2 separate regions of the Homo sapiens genome follow, and region 2 is linked to region 1. The links are contacts of gene promoters, found by promoter capture Hi-C in human tissues and cell types (Jung and others, 2019). All regions are on one chromosome and are shown on one strand. The core of a region is centred on a gene start or on the middle of the fragment in contact, and the rest is flanking DNA. Distances in the headings are between cores, read along the strand shown.

The links. The method cuts DNA at HindIII sites, captures the fragments that hold promoters and counts their contacts. A contact is called where the count stands out against the background at its distance.
Region 2: a contact is called between a fragment that was not itself captured here and the fragment with the promoter of C10orf67 in region 1, in 4 of the 25 tissues and cell types used here (adrenal gland, hippocampus, small bowel and 1 more).

What each region holds. Positions count from the first base shown.
Region 1 is chr10:23,342,438-23,347,846 of GRCh38, forward strand. C10orf67 (chromosome 10 open reading frame 67) reads right to left here and starts at 2,360. Exons shown (of 16, transcript NM_001371909.1): 1 at 2,132-2,360. The coding sequence starts at 2,337. C10orf67-AS1 (C10orf67 antisense RNA 1) reads left to right here and starts at 1,520. Exons shown (of 2, transcript NR_155752.1): 1 at 1,520-1,653; 2 at 1,987-2,724. RefSeq lists a silencer at 3,483-3,777. The HindIII fragment of the contact is 15,239 bases long and covers 1-5,409 here.
Region 2 is chr10:23,581,909-23,587,317 of GRCh38, forward strand. LOC105376454 (a long non-coding RNA gene) reads left to right here. Exons shown (of 9, transcript XR_930754.3): 9 at 3,840-4,332. Among named protein-coding and RNA genes, the nearest start is that of OTUD1, 150 kb to the left of the region's middle. The HindIII fragment of the contact is 4,928 bases long and covers 224-5,151 here.

The sequences.
Region 1 (5,409 bases), core at 1,110-3,609:
TCACACCCAGGCACCAGCTCAGTCGCCCTAGTACTTTGGGTGAAGAGGAAGGAATATGGGCATCAGTGGTTCTTTTGTTCAGCCAAAGAGCACCCGGCACCATCGGTCTGCTCTTGAGCCTGGCAAGTGCATTTTTTTTTGGGAGCTACCCCACCATGGAATGCCAAGGAGTCCAGGGCAGGACACCATTCCTATCAGCAAACACTAGAACAGGGTAGACGCTGTGTGCCTCTGGTGTTTATCACGTGCTGCCTCTAATAAATGCTATTCACAACCACCACTAGACCAGGTCCCGTGCACCCTGACCCATTTTAACAAACGTACCCATTGAATACAGTGAAGCTGGGGAAGCCCAGCCCAGGAGCATTGCCTCACTGGGTCAGTCCCACTGCTGGGCTAGGACACCTGTGGTCCCTTCTTCTCACCCTGGAGCTGTGTCTGTGTGAGGGGCTTGCCCCTAAGCCAGCCCACCTGGCACCATGAGGCCCCTGCCTTATACAACGGTAAGTTCTCCCATAGCAGCTAAGCTAATTCTGGCTACCTACTGATTTGAAAAGGTTTTTAGAAAGAAATTTGCATTTTCCCAGAAACATCAGCTCTACATTATCCAAATAAACAACAAAGCTAGAACACAGGGGGCAAAGGATTATGAAAGGGACGGGTTTTAAACAAGGATCAAGGAATAGCAAATAATGACATCGGCAAACACTTCTATGATTCTGCTATGGTCTGAGTGTGTCTCCTGAAAATTCATGTTGAAATCCTAACCCCCAAGATGACGATATTAGCAGGTGTGGACTTTGGAGGTGACTAGGTCATGAAAGTGGAGCCCTATAAATGGGATTAGTGCCCTTCTAAAAGCAGGGTGGGAGCGGGTGTGGGGGACGTGGGGGAAAACTCCCTTGCCCGTTGCACCATGTGGAGACACAGCCAGGAGGTACTGTCTGTGCAGAAGGGACCCTCATCAGACCTGGAATCTGCCAGTGGGCTTCCCAGCCTCCAGAACTGGGAGAAACAAATTCCTGTTGCTTATAAGCCACCCAGCCTATGTTGTTTTGTTACAGCAGCCCGAGGGGACTAAGACGGGTACTGTGTCCTAGATTAGCTCATTTAATATTCACTATGATCTATGAAGCAGGCACTACTCTTCATCATTCATGAACGATTATTTCCCGCTGAGAAAACTGAGGCACAGAGCAGTCAGTCGCCTAACTCACGGCCCCTGTGAGAGGGTCGCCAAGATTCTGGAATCCGGGCAGTCTGGCTCCAGAGTCCGTGCTCTTAGTGTCCAGCTATACACTTGAAGAAGTGAAAACTGCAGCTCTTTTCGGACAGTGATCCCCTCGAAAAACAAACAAAAAACTGAAGCCCAGCGGCTGGAGCAAGGGGCCTGGAAAGGCGTTGAGCGAGGGCCGGGGCGCGAGGGCTCCGGGGCGGGCCGGCGGGGACTGCCTCTCCCGCTGGTCACCTGGGGTTGAACTGGAATTGTTCAATAGAGGCCTCGAGGCCCTCCATGATCTTCCGGCCCTCCTCTGTCTCAGGCGAGTCGCCCCAGTTCGCCATTGCAGCCCCGGACGTGCGCCTCCCGCGGAGCCGCTCGCTCTCCTGAGTCGGAGTCGGGAACCCGGCGTCCGTTGCCATGGCGACTCCCAGGTAACCGGCGAAGCGCGGGAATCCGTGGGCGGGGGCCGGGGAGGGCCGCGAGTGGAGGGGGGTGGGGAACGGGGTGGGGAGGGGAAGGGGGAAGGAGATGGGGAGGAGGGGGATAGGGAGAAGGTTGGGGATGGGGGGGAAGGGGAGAGGGAAAGGAAGTAGAGGAGGTGTGGAGGGAAGGAAGAGGGGGAAGGAGTGGGGGAAGGGGGAAGAGATGGAAAGGAGGATGGGGAGGGAGCACGCGCGGGAGGAGGGGAGTGGAGAGGGGGAGGAGGAGGCGGGGCGGGCTCCCAAGCCACCCCGCTGCGCTTTCACTGTCCCGCCTGCCTCAAGGCTTCCCCACAAGACTCCCACAGCCTGGAGGCTGCTGCGATACCCCAGAGGAAAGCTGCACCCCCGTAAATAACCCTTCAGCCTCCCGCCGTGCCCCTGGACCCTGCTCGCTTCCTCCTCTACCCAGGCGCGGAGCTCAGCCTACCTCGTGGACCCGCGCATTTGCGGGGGCTTGAATTCCCGAGCTTCTCGCTTCCTACGCGCGCAGCAGACCCGCAGCTCGGTGGCCTTGGCTTTCATGGCCTCCCAGCGTGTGCCAAAGGTCCCCCTCAAGGAGGAGGAAAAGCAGTGAACCCATCTAATAACTATGCTCATGACATAATGAGCCCTGCGATCCCGGACCAAGGCCATCATAAGAGGAGAGCAGGCTGCCTAATAAGCTGTCTCCACCTGCCACAAACGTAGGCGTTCCTGGACAAAATATTTCCTTGCAGAGATTAAACAGATTTCTATTTAATGAGGTCAGAATGTGAGGCGTTAAGTCTTAAACTATACCATCTAGTGTGGAATTCAATTTTACCAGGTTTCTACAATAATAAGAGTTAATAGTGAAACTGTTGTCATCCTTAGTTTTAAATTATGTATCACTCATTGTCAACTAATAGGAGACACCTATTCTAATATCAGTATGTCATTGTTTTTCTGTAAACGACTGGCTAAATTTATTTTTAAAATGTCATTGTCTGGTTTAGAACTGTCTATACTACATCTGCATTTCAATATATTATCTACAGAAAAATAAGTTTTTTCTCCTCTCTCTTATTATTATTATTATTATTTTTTGGAGCCGGAGTCTCGCTCTGTCGCCCAGGCTGGGGTGCAGTGGCGCGATCTGGGCTCACTGCAACCTCCGCCTCCCGGGTTCAAGCAATTCTCCTGCTTCAGCCTCCCGAGCAGCTGGGACTACAGGCACACAGCACCAAGCCAGGCTAATTTTTTGTATTTTTAGTAGAGACGGGGTTTCACCGCGTTGTGCAGGCTAGTCTAACTCCTGAGCTCAGGCAATCTGCCCCCCTCGGCCTCCCAAAGTGCTAGATAACAGGCGTGAGCCACAGAGCCCGGCCTCTTCTCTGTCTTGTAACAGTAAGTGAAAATAACTTAGCTGGATTTAGAAGCTCAAAACAGGAAAAGAAAAGCACTGTAGCATTATCACTACTATTATGTTTAAAGACAAAGATTAAAAGCCCCAAATGCCAATAAAACATCATAACCAATGCCAAAATCATCTTCTGTGAAGGCTTATTTTTTGGGGGGGAGATGAAGAGAGAAGAGAAAAAGAGTTACTTTTACTCTTTGGAGGTTTTTAATTACAAACTCTAACTTCAGACTTTATTTGGGGAATTTTTATTATATAATCAAAAGGTATTTTAAAAGAAAGAAATTTATATATCTACAATAACTTTTCTTTTTCCTAAGTGATATTTTACCACAATGTATATACATGTTTTAAAATAAAGATTAAAATTTTAAGTTAAAATTTCAAAACCTATCTGTTTAGAGCTGGGCCAAGACAGTGTAAAGAATGTGACAAGCTGTTGGCTATTTTCCTAGTGCAATTATAAATGAATCGTTTGAAACTGAGGAGAGAGATCGCACAGAAGATTTCATGAGTCATTGGTCAGCTCTGTACAGCATTTGTTGACTGATATAGTCTGCATAGTTACGCCATCCCACAAAAACATGCATTGAACAGAACATCTTTGTTTGAAACCTTGCTATAGCATATCAAGGAGTTTCAGATTTCAGTGTCTAAGAGACCACGCTATGATGATGATTGTTTTTGAAACCGTTAACTACATAATACTTCTCTTCTTGTCAGTTACCTGTATTTTATCTCACAGGTGTTCCGGCTTATAAAATTGTTTATTTCAGATCAGATTCTCACCTGTAGTAACTGGCGTTGATGTGGTCAAAACATTTGTCATATTAAATCCAGGCCTCTTTTATCACATGCTAAATTCATTGATGGCTTTAGTGGAAAGCTCATGAACTCTGCAGTAAATATTAAATATATACAGGCTTTGAAACTTACTCGATTTAGAATTTTGGGCAAGTAAGTTAACATTTCAGAGCCTCTATTTTCTCACAAGTAAAAACTGGATAATGAATGTTTCTCAAAGTTGGGGTAATCTATAAAGCAGAAAAACACGCAGCACATGCATGAGGCAACTGCAAGAGAAATACCAACTAGGCCTTTGAAGGACTCTATTCCTTCTTCCTAAACCACTACTAGGGAAAACATTGTTTAAAGATGTCAGTGTTTTGGCTGGATTCGGTGGCTCATGCCTGTAATCCCAACACTTTGGGAGGCGGAGGCAGGCAGATCACTTGAGGTCAGAAGTTTAAGACCAGCCTGGCTAACATGGTGAAACCCTGTCTCTACTAAAAATACAAAAATTACCTGTGCATGGTAATGCACGCCTGTAATCCCAGCTACTTGGGAGACTGAGGCATGAGAATCACCTGATCCCGGGAGGCAGAGGTTGCAGTGAGCCGAGACTGCACCACTGCACTCCAGCCTGGGCGACAGAGTGAGACCCTGTCTCAAAATAAATAAATAAATAAAGATTTCAATTTTAAAAAATTGAACATTTCATAAGTTAACATTGTTTTTACTTGTTCAGTTAATAGGACTTCAGGCACAATTTTAAAATTTGAAGTGCTTCTCTGACATACCACAGGTATAAATAGAATATGTATTTATATAAAAATATCGCCTACCAGTTATTAAAAGTGATAACATCTCAGATTAACTAGCATGAGAATTTGATTAAGAGTCAAGTGCTGACTCTAAACATAGTAATTTATGTATTCCAGTTGGGTAGTATCAGTTCTATAGTCTAATAAGAGCCAAGAGGTTTCAGTTTAGGTTTGTAATTTAAATTCTTTCTAGAGCGTCATCACATGCGAAGTGCTTATTTTTCTTTTATCACCAGCTATAATATATGATTATGTGGTGGAGGCTCTGTTATGTAAACTTGTTTTATGTCATGCTTCATCCACAACCAAAGTTCTTAAATAAAGTCTTTGGAAGGACATAGTAAGGCTCTTAGCCAGGGCAATATAATGCTACTAAATCCTTTATGGCAAAACTCCTGAGACTAGATCATTTTAATGTCTTAAATTTTGCTGCTGTGAGACAGCATATCCACTCTGTGAAAGTCTATCAATAAGCATTTGTCAGCCGACTAAAGCTGAAAACCAAGATGACAAGCCCAGTAGGGGGTTTGGGGCAGGCGCAACTGTGGATGTGGAATTTGGATCCTTGCCGCCAAATGTCCTTGAGCACTGGAGTAAAGGATTTCCTCTATTTGGAGCTAAGTTTAGATCATCACTGTTTAAAAGAGAGCAGGCCCGCGTGTGGCTCACGCCTGTAATCCCAGCACTTTGGAAGGCCAAGGTGGGCGGAGCCCAGAAGCTAGA
Region 2 (5,409 bases), core at 1,438-3,937, 240 kb after region 1:
TCACACACACACACACACACACACACACACACACTCTTTTCTCAAAATCACAGCACCAATGTATAAAGAAAAGTTTATTTGATAGCTCTGGTGGCAGAGCCTCTGGGAGCATCTCATGACTGAGCTTGTGATATACTCAACCTTGAAGCAATCATTGAATATTGTCAGAGAATGCGGTGTTCCAACTGACCAACTTAAGTCAGGTGGTGATTGGCAACCCCACTACATAATAGAATATTAACTTTACCCAGAGAGATTACTGACCTTTGTCCCAGCTCCTGGGAGGAAACCCCTAAACCTTTAGAACTTCCAGAGTGATGGGAGTGTCTTTGCTATTCATGGTGGACCCCTCAGACCTAAACCTGATAGTTTATGCTAATGAGGTGACTCAGGGTGGTGGGATCGCCATTCCAGAAAGACCAACTGTGTGATTACAGAATTGGGCCTTTGGGCCACAGGATATAAGTCTGACCTCCAGAGAGACAAGAAGAGGGTGCTGGAAGTTGAGTTCAGCTATGTGGTCAATGATTAAGTCATGCCTATGTAAGAAAACCGCAATAATCACTCTGGACACTAAAGTTCAGGTGAGTTTCCCAGGTTGGCAGTACTGGGAGTGTTTTGTTACATTTTGATAATGGGAGTGTAAGGCATCCTTGACGATGATGAAAACTTTATATCTGGAATCCTCCCAGAACTCATCCTATATGCCTCTGCTTCTAATTTATATTCTTTTGCTATAATACAGCTGTAATCATAAGTATAGTGTTTGTCTGAATTCTTTGAGTTGTCCTAGCAGATTATCAAGCCTAAGGGTGGTCATAGAAACCCCTGAATTTGTAGCCAGTTGGTCTGAAGCGAAGGTGGTGGTGGGGGACCCCAAAACTCACAATTGGTGTCTGTATTGAGGCCAGACCTGTGACGTCTGTTTCCTTAGACTTTGAAGCTTGATATTCTCATTGCAGTTGGTGTCAGAAGTTTTGGCTAGATGTAGCAGTCTGGAAGACTGTGCCCTTAACTGTGAGTTTACCTAAGTCTGGTACCCACTGATGGAGAAAGGCAGTTTCAGAAAGAAAAAAAATGTGGGCAGGCAAAACCAACAAACTGAATCAAACCAACCCAAATCAAATAACCAGCTGCCTCCCTTTGTAAGAGAACCCATCACTCCCAGATGTATGGCCTGTAATAATGTCTCATGACTACTAAGACTTTTCAGAAAATGCTTCCCAGAACCTATAACCTTGGGCATTTTGTGTTTTGTACCTTCCCTGACTGGTGGTTCTGAAATTAAAATTTGAGTTGCATTACTAATTACTAATAACAAATTAATGTGCTACCATTTTTTCTGATGTTTACTTTTGAACAATCTTTAATGCTTAACCCAAGTCAGGGAGTAATCTAGAATGTAAGCTTCTCAAAGGCAGGCACCTGTTTGAAAACTGCCAGGTGCCAAGGTAGTTAATTTGAACAATGGGCCAAACAATAAGGCCTTTATTTACTTATTGCAACAGTACAAGCAAGAGACCAATAAGAGAAGGTGCTGGCTTCCCCATTGTTCCATTTTTGTGTTTCTAGGAATGGTTCACACAGGAAAATCATCTCATTGCTAAAGGGACACTGAACAAAAGGCTCCTGCTGTTTTATGGAGTGGGATATTGGAGGAGGCAGAGAAGGGCTAGGAGTGGGAAAAGTACTGAGAACTGAGTCACAGTGGAAAAAGGTGTCTTTAGCTTTAAGCCCCTCCTCTTGCCCCACACCCATTAGGAAGTCTTAGCAGAGGCATCTGAACAGTGTCTCAGCTGAGCCCTCCCACCCGCTTCCCGAAGGTAAGCAGGCCTCCAACTGGAGTCACCTAGGCTAGGAAAATGGGTATGTGTAAGAGCATGTCCAGCCAGGGGCATGCACCTGAGTCCCTGAGTGCAGCTTCCTTCAGAGGATGCAACGCTTTGGCTGTGCACCAACTCTAGTAAGGGGAGGATCACTCCTCCCGCTCATGCCTTGTGATGCCTGCCAGGTGAAGTCTTTGTGATTGGCTAAGGTCTGTCTTGAAAGAGCACATGTAGGATTTTGGCTCAAAGTCAGACACCTCAGTATCCTTGTCTGTTCCTTAATGTATCATAAGTTTCTAAAGTAGTGCTCGGCACATAGTTGGTGCTCAGTAACTGTTATTTTTATAGGTGCTAACATGGGTAGAGCCACTGCAGATACTGTAGGGGTTATTCCGTGGATCCTAATGTTGCCAAATGTTAGAGCAGCTGGCTCCAAAATTGATGTGGTCCAGTAAGCATGGGGTGATGGGTCCTGCCAGGTTTCCAGCAGAATGAACACAGTGAAAGGTAGAATTGTGGTCTGCAACTGGAATATAGCTAAAAGACAAGCGCTGGCAAAAGAAAAAAAGAAGTCAAGAAATGAATCAATGGTTATAGCAGTGCGCTTTTGTGCCAACTGGATGGCCATGTAGCTTTATAATTCTAAACTCTCATTTGAGGAAGGCAGATTAGATTATGAAAGTTGTAACAACTCTGTGCACCTTTTGCCATTTGTCCTTTGGACTCATTCACAATGTCATGGTCATAGTACTCTTTGTTCCCTATATATCGGCAGAGGAAATATCTTCCTATCTCTGACTATGGCATATTCTCATTTAAGGAGAGGGCTCTGCTGATGATTGCATGCGGCTCCCCCATCTGTCCCTCCAGCTTGTGTGTTTGTCCAAATTCAGAGCTATAACTCACAGTTTTCCTCTGCAACATGGAGTACCTTTCATTGCTCAGTGTTAACTCACTGAATTGAAGGGATTAAAGAGACAACTTTTCTAAACAAGAAAAGCCTCTTATGTTGAATGCTTCTTGAAAATTTGCATATTTTCATTTCATTGCTTTATAAATTATTACCTGGAAGTCATATCTTTGTAGTCTATAAACAATGTGATGAAGTTCAATATTTTTCTCTAACGGATTTGTTTTTAAAGAAACAAAGCTTGTATTCAAAGATTTCACAGATGTTTCCTATGATCCTGTGTTATTTAAAACTCATTCATTAAACACACCTGATGAATAGATCTATTACATTTTCTTAGCTGATTAAAAGTTCATTTTAGAAGGATGGAATGAATTATCACACAATGATTTCATTGCAATACATCTTTGTAGGTGTCCAGCATTATAAGGAATTGAGTTACAAATTGCTCTACAAATTGACAGGCTAGCAATCATTATTTTTCCATGTATTAGCTTGAGTCAATCTTTGATCTCATCATAGTTTCAATGGTAGAGAAGATGGAGGTGGTGAAGCGTTATTATTTTTCCAGCACAGAAAATTATGCCACAAAATAAAACATGTACAGGGTTGTCATAATGGCCCCAATGGTGATGACAGGAAAAAAGAATAGTTGCAGCTATCCTTCAGTGCACAGTGAAATAGTGAACAATTTGTTAAATATTCCCTGGAGTCAATTAAACTGGCATATGATCAGTTTGGAGGCTGCCAAGCCTCAGTGGGAGCCAATTAGAATTCACCAAAAATGACAATGGATGAATCTGAAAAAACAGTGTTAGATTTATGAGGGAAAGCAAACACATCATTGAGCCAAGAATAATCTTGGTGAGCACTCTCTAAAAGAGATTGGTAAATAGGTTGTATAGTGGTATCATGTTCACAGTGTTTCAAATGTTTCTTCTGCAATATTTTAAGCCATTACTGCAAAAAAATTAAATTAGTCTGATTTAGCCTACACAACATGAGAGAATCATTCTGCACATTGCAGCCATTATTAATTTTGTTCCAAAAGCAGCCTTGCATGAAAGATTAATTTTTCTTTTCTTTTTGGATTTAAACTACAGATAAACACTACAGATTGCTACAGATGAATGCTACTGACATGCTAAAGACTATATGACAATTCCTTTTAAAGTCAGACACTCAATTGTGAAAGATGTGTGAACAATCCAATGATGGATGTCCGTTAGTTCAGTGCTGTCAAGCTGAGTTACTACTCCACATCTCTGATACTGATGCTGTTTTTGCAGTCATGATTGAGTCGTTGAAGAAAAAAGCACTCTACAGAGTTCTGCCCAACTGTGTCCAAACAAGCAGCAACTTGAAATATCATTGGCTTACTCAGCAGCATCAGAACCCACAAAGCAAAGAGGTTAGATCCATCCAAGAGACTTTTCTGCAGCAGTAAATGGATTTGCCCTCTTTAGAGCAGGGAGCACAGCTCCAACACAATTATTCTTATTGGAACAGACTAAGGAATTTACTTCAAATGAGGTTGTTGGTTGTCCTGTGAAAGCTGTGTCAGAATAAATATTCAACTGCTCTTTGGAGGCATAATTTGTTAGCCCGTGAATCATTTGTGACCCATGAGCTGCATATAGCTGACTTTGTTTAAATGGAGGGAAAACTTCTTTCATTCTAGCAAAACTTGTATAAAGCTCAGGTATAGAGAAAACACTTTAACGTTCAGTTCTTTCCAAAGGGGCCATTTTTATATGCCAGATGTCCTGAAGCAATAAACTTTGTTACTTGTTCACAATAAATTTTGTTAAGGGAAAATTTCCAAATGACAGATGTCAACAGTAAACATCCACAACAGTTTAATGAAGATGTGGCTTTGAAATGTATAATTGTAGGGTAACAGTTTAAATGCAAGGCCAGTACTGTTACAATTTGACAAGGTGTGATGCTTTTCAGATTTTTTGGGGAGAGACATTGTAAATTCCTTACAGGAATATGTAGTTCATCTTTCATCGTTTCTAAATCTCTCTGAACCTAAGATAGTGCTTGAGCCTAACACTCAGGAGATGCTTGGTAATCAAAGAGATAATGATTATGCCCCCAATGCTTTTTATAGGGTTGTTTGGCTGACTGAGGCAAAATTTAGGGTGATTGGTATATGCCACGGGAAGTAGGAATAAGGCTGGGGTGTGCCATTAAGAACAAACAAAATTCCTAATGAAAAATTAAAAATTTCTTCTTTTTTTTCTTTTTTTAAAATTATACTTTAAGTTCTAGGGTACACGTGTACAACGTGCAGATTTGTTACATAGGTATACATGTGCCTTGTTGGTTCGCTGCACCCATTAACTTGTCATTTACATTAGGTATTTCTCCTAATGCTATCCCTCCCCCAGCCCCCAACCCCATGACAGGCCCCTGTGTGTGATGTTGCCTTCCCTGTGTTCAAGTGTTCTCATTGTCCAATTCCCACCTATGTGTGAGAACATGCGGTGTTTGGTTTTCTGTCCTTGTGATAGTTTGCTCAGAATGATGGTTTCCAGCTTCATCCATGTCCCTGCAAAGGACATGAACTCATCATTTTTTTATGGCTGCATAGTATTCCATGGTGTATATGTGCCACATTTTCTTAATCCAGTCTATCATTGGTGGACATTTGGGTTGGTTTCAAGT